Regions from separate parts of the Homo sapiens genome. Here region 1 is linked to region 2. Evidence: promoter capture Hi-C in human tissues and cell types (Jung and others, 2019). All regions are on one chromosome and are shown on one strand. The core of a region is centred on a gene start or on the middle of the fragment in contact, and the rest is flanking DNA. Distances in the headings are between cores, read along the strand shown.

Region 1 (2,919 bases), core at 154-2,653, 1.9 Mb after region 2:
ACATAGGGGCTCTCTCAGCTCTCCTGCCCTAGCACCTTGTGCACTACCCATGTGTATTTGATTAAGGCCCACAGGAAAGAGTTGGCAAGTGGATGCAGATTTGCTGTGTTTTGGGGCTCCTGGAGATTCTAATCTATCATTTCAGCTCACATGGAGACATTAAAAGTTTGTTAACAGTTCAGCTGGTATCTTCTTACCCTTATCTATTGGCAGATTCTTTGTCTTTCCACCACTTTGCCACAGATGAAAACAGCTGTGGATTACTACTTTGCCTATGAAGGCCTTCTTGATATCTGATACTTACTTCCTGTAGGTTTCTTTGTGTTCTATCCACATTTTCTAAATCCTGGGGCAAATTGTCTCTGTGTAATGTTATAGAATGGAGGTTACAGTCATCCCATGGGATTTGATTCATTGAGGCAAAGTGGATAAAATATTTCCAAAAGGCATCATTTCTAAGTGGACTGGGGAGTTCACACCTTGGCTTTGCCACTTAGAGCTTTGTAGTAGTATTCAGTTACTCTCTGAAAGTACTGCTTTGTTAATTGGAGGTTAAAACACCCACATCTGTCATCCTCTTTGGGCTCCGAAGATTAAATGATGCAGAAGTACAAAGTAAACTTCCCAGGGCTTGAGTGGTTTGACTAGGATTACTGTAGGAAAGATTTTGAGATTTACCTTTAATGGTAGAGTGGGCAGTAAGGTGAGTGGGATGGATACAGGATGGCTTTACATTTCCTGAGCTGTCTTTACAGCAAGATTATATTTCATTTCAAATAAAAGAAGAGAAGGCTAGTGGTTAAAAGCATGGTCTCTGAAAAAAGGTTTTCTAGGTTTGACTCTCAACTCTATTATGTACTGTGTGACCTGGGGCAAGCCACTTCACTTCTCTGTTTCTTAGTTCCTTTGTTTGTAAAATGGGGATATTAATAGTTCCTACTTCATAGGATTGCTATGAGGACCAAGTGAGAGGCTAAGAATGTAAAGCAGAGTTCTGGCTCAGCATGGCAGGCTCAGTAGCAGTGAAGTACATTGCTTCTCATTTTTTCCTTTCTGGTTGCTCTCATGTCAGGGCAGGGCAGAGACAATCCTGGTTAGCTTTTCATCCCAGCAGAGAATTCAGATACAAATCCTGATTAAGAAGGTGTATTTAGTAAGATGTTTCACAATGCTCATGGGAGCTGGGGTGTCTCCGTTCTGCTGTTGGTTGGTTAGTACTGGAGGCCAGATGTTTTAGCTCCTCTTTCATGACTTTAATCTTGTGTTGGATTCATCACCAAAAGACGAACAGGAGCATCCGCTCTGCATTACTTATTACCTCCAAGAAGAAACACTGTCGCAGCACTGTAGAATGTTAATGTCTCTTCCCTACACACCCTCTCTCCACCTCTCCACTTCTGTCTTTCCTCCTTTCCTTAGTTGTGGGAATGTGGTATATAGTCAGGGTGATTTCTTTGTGGCAGGGTAGAGATGATTAGCAATTTGGTTCTCTTAGGTTGAAAATGCTTACATTTATAGGTTATATAGTAGATAGAGCCATGCTGTGTTGAAATCTCATGGTTTTGTGGGTTTATATAGTGTATTTTCAGCACTTTTAGGTGCAATAACATTCACTTGCTTTCAGATGTATTTTAAAAATTGCTGATTACTTTTGTATTAAGATTTGAGGTCATTAATTTTAAGCAGATTGATAAAAATGGTACTTAATCTCTGTGTATTTGGTATGTGAATTACGTAGCATTTATTTTAGGAAATTTCCATGGAATTCCATTTATCTCAGCAGTTTTGAGGGGAGAAGATAATACTGTAGATGTAACTTACTGGAGTGCTTTAATTTTAATTCTGTTGACTGTCTCTGTGTATAGGTTTATTACCACTTTAATTTCTTCAGTTTACTTTGTATGTGGAGTTCTATAGTCATTTAATCATTATTCCTGTGCTCAAGGTTCTACAGAGATGAGGCCTGCCTTTGGGCTCTTCTAGACTTTGAAAGAAGCATCTTGTCACTGGAGTATGGATGATGGGGGATGATGGAGAGGATAGGGGCAGAATCTGGATCTTGGTACCCTCCTGCCTTCAGGGTTGACAGATTCAGCTGGCATTTTATGCAGAATTCAAGTTATTAACAGAAAACTCTACAAGAGCAAATGAAGCTTTAGTTAAATAAACATGAGGATTTCAAATATCAGAATATCAACTGTTTGGAATATCTACATTCCTGTACCCTTTCAGTGAGTAAATTGGCCATAATTATCTTTATTTGTAGAAAACAAAGAGGTGCTGGTTCAGGGATATGTGATATATTGGCCACTGGCCTCAAGCATGAGTTTTGTCATTTGGAGACAGATCAGTGCTGCCACCTAACCTCAAAGAATGAGGATGTGGCCTGTCATCTGCATACACAAATGCAAAGATATCATCACTTCCTTTTTGCCAAGAGTGGGCTGAGTAAATTTGCCAGATTGTGGTGATTGTGCTTGTCTGCCGACAGGGAGCATGTTTTGCTTTTAGTTGTCCAGGGATAATAACTGCCGGTTATTAAATGCCTCTGCTACCTTGCTGTGTTCTTTGTCCATAAGACTTCATCCTCCCCTTCACATTTTAAGGGGAGGTATGGTTAGCTTTATTTTTATAAAAGGGGAGCTTGAGACTCAAACAGTACTAACTCTTCCAAGGTCCAGAGCTTTTCGATGGTAGTTCCGGGGTGGAACTCAGATCTCTGACCCCCATACCTCTGATCTTTCCCCTTTACCATGCAGCCTCTGGGCTTCAGAAAATGTTTCCTACAGGATTATATTGGATGCCACTGATTAAATGATTACTGCTACTTAATTAATTGGAGATAGAATTTGATGCTAGAAATGTTTTTGGCAATAATGAGTTACTTAGGTGACTGAACTTTTACATTTATTTCTAGGA
Region 2 (3,038 bases), core at 316-2,815:
TGAAAGCTCCACCGTCTCCCGGGTTCATGCCATTCTCCTGCCTCAGCCTCCCGAGCAGCTGGGACTACAGGCGCCCACCACCATGCCCGGCTAATTGTTTTGTATTTTTAGTAGAGATGGGGTTTCACCGTGTTAGCCAGGATGGTCTCGATCTCCTGACTTCGTGATCCGCCCGCCTCGGCCTCCCAAAGCGTTGGGATTACAGGCGTGAGCCACCGCGCCCGGCCGGGCACAAGCTTATTGTTTTTCTTCTACCTTTTCTAAATGTACCCAATGCTCTTCATGTTTTCTGCCAGATGTTCTAGTCACTGCATGATGGGATTGTTACTTTTGCTGCTTCTCTGGACTCCTCACTCTTAGTCATTTTAAATATGGTCAAAATGACAATCTTTCTTACCATATTTGATATATAACTTTCAAAAAGAATAAAACTTAGCACCCTCCTATTAGTCCTTATCTAAATGGAAACTTATTAGCAGAGCATCAAGGGCCCAATAAAGTGCCCCCTCTTTTGAAACTTATCTCTACTCCCTTTCATATATTTCAATCATGTCAATTTCTTATTGTTCTTCTAAATAGGTGCTGATTACTAAACTCTATTCGTGGGTTTTATTTTTTATGTTCCTCTCCATTAATTAATATTCTTCACTGACTTTAAGACTTCACGATTCATTCTTTTAAAAGAACGTGTTTGATTTCCTCCACTGTTAACTGCTAAATATCTCTCTGATATATTGTTTTCAGGCTATCTTTCTCATCTGGAGTAATTATGTTTCAAGTGTCAGGGGGAAAATACCTTTTCTATCCTGTGCAAAAACTCATGCTGGGCACTAAGAGCATGGAGCATGTCCCAGTTATCTATTGCTGCATAACAAACCAACCCAAACTTAGCAGTATAAAACAACCACTGCTTTAGTATGCACATCAACTTTCAGGGTCAGAAATTCTTTTCTCCTTCATGTATAGAGTCTCAGCTGGGAGTGACATAAATAGGTGGAGACAGACCTCTCCAGCCCAGTCCAGCCAACAGCCTCCGCTCCTGCGCACCCGCAGCCTGGGGCCCCAGGTTCCTGTGGTCTCACCGACCCTAATCCTCTCATCTCTCCTCCCCATTCCCTCTCCAAATTGTTTCAGAATTCCAAATTCTTATCTGGATCCGGCAAATTAATTCAGCTACTCTTCAGAGTCTCTCAGTTATTCCCAAATTCTCTCGGAAGCTTGAATTTACCTATCTAAATCCATTCTCAAAAACACATTGGCCTTTTCTAGCCGGGACATCTCCAACAGTAGTTGCTGTTAGAAACTGCAATTTCCCCTTCTCTGCATACACATTTTTATAAATTGATTTATTGGTAGGCAAATTACATTTTTAAAAAAAGGCATGTGTGGGTTTTCAGGGAAGCCTGGACAGGACGTGGGCGTGCCGGGAGCTCGCCGGAGCAGCTGGTCCGGCTCTGGGCGCCCAGCGGAACCAGGGCTGTACTCACCTGGATGCCGGACCCGCCCCCTAGAGACCCCGCCCCCTGGCGTTCGGCTACTAAAGGGAAGGGGATTCCCAGGGGGTCCTCAATCCTGGACTCTCCCGACCCCTAGCTGTCGGTCCCCCTCCCTGCGCGCGCGCCGGCGGGTTTCCTACCCTCCGAGGCGTCCGCTGGCCTGCGCCCTGGCGGGGACGTGGGCGGGGCGGGCGGCATTTAAGGCTGGTGCCACCTCCCCGGTGCAGCGGCTGGCGATCGGCCGCGGAGGTGCGTGCAGGGCCCGCGCCGCCGCCGGTATCTCCACCGCCAACACCTCAGCCACTGCCACTGCCACAGCCACACGAGGCCCCCCACCGTGCGCTCCGCCGCTGCGGTCCCGGATCCGCGCTCCACGCCCGCAGCCCGCGGCGCCACCAGCCCAGCATGCACCAGGTGCGTGCAGCCCCCGCGCCGGCCGAGGATGCGAGACGCTGGGCCAAGGCCCCGGGGACCGGAGCAGGCTGACGGGAAGCGAGGAAAAGGCGAAGAGGAGAAACGCCCCGTCCCGGGGCAAGGGGAGGCCGCCTTTCCTCTGAGCGCCCCCCGGCCTGGGCACCGCTTCTCTGACTCCCCGCCACGGCTCCGTGCGGCCGCCGGGGCTGGCTGGGGAAAGAAGCCAGTCCAGAGGAGCGAGAAGGGGCCAAGGGGTCCTAGGCCAGCTCCATGGCACCTGCGGGCTCCGACTCGGAGGATGGGGTGACATGGATTCGTTGCGGTCTGAAAAGACTTCCGGTTAGGGCCCCCTGATCAGGACTGAGGGTCGTAAGCTTAGTGGGTGCCTCCTCCCCAAGAAACAGGACGCACAGCTGTTGTGTCCCCTGGGAAGGACACCTCAGAGGAAACCTCGAGGTGCCTAAGGAACCTCGAGGTTCTAAGGAAACCTCACAGCTCCTTGGAGGCATCAGTCAGGAGTTGGGGGGGTAACTTCCCACCTGCTCCACCCAGAGAAGGGTCACCCTGAGGAGCTGCTGGCTGGCCTGTGCCCACCCCGCCTCCCCTCTACACGGACGGAGAGGAAGCCAAGGTCGGCGGGAGGTGGGGGAGAGACTCCACTGTCCGACTCCCTCCGGCCTCCCCAGAGGAGGGAAGGAAAGGGAGAAGGGGCTCCTGACTCCTGCAGGTCCTGACCCCGCAGAGGGGCGCTCAGCACCTCTTCGGAAACCCCATTTGGGGCCAATATTGCACCTGGGCTTCTCTTTCAGAAAACCCCAGAAATTTACTCCGTGGAGCTCAGCGGAACTAAGGACATCGTGAAAACAGACAAGGGGGATGGCAAGGAGAAGTATAGGGGTCTGAAGAACAACTGCCTGGAACTCAAAAAGAAAAATCACAAAGAGGAGTTTCAGAAAGAACTCCATCTGGTCAGTAGCCTTAAGCCACGGGGTCCTGCCGGCTATGGCCCTTCCCCGCAAGAGCTTGCCCCTAGAACCCACCTCTTACCACAGACATTCAGTCTGAGGGATTTGAAATCCCCTTGAGATTGTGTGTGGTGTGTGGTGTCTGCGTGGTGTGTCTGTGTGG

What was found. Contacts are between HindIII fragments. The study calls those that stand out against the background at their distance.
Region 1: a fragment that was not itself captured here is called in contact with the fragment with the promoter of ATP12A in region 2 in 1 of the 25 tissues and cell types used here (dorsolateral prefrontal cortex).

The regions. Positions count from the first base shown.
Region 1 is chr13:26,599,463-26,602,381 of GRCh38, forward strand. The region is part of intron 1 of WASF3 (WASP family member 3); the gene reads left to right. Among named protein-coding and RNA genes, the nearest start is that of WASF3, 43 kb to the left of the region's middle. The HindIII fragment of the contact is 5,587 bases long and covers 1-2,919 here.
Region 2 is chr13:24,678,843-24,681,880 of GRCh38, forward strand. It overlaps ATP12A (ATPase H+/K+ transporting non-gastric alpha2 subunit), which reads left to right and starts at 1,566. Exons shown (of 23, transcript NM_001676.7): 1 at 1,566-1,910; 2 at 2,720-2,878. The coding sequence starts at 1,902. RefSeq lists a silencer at 1,614-1,923. The HindIII fragment of the contact is 3,620 bases long and covers 727-3,038 here.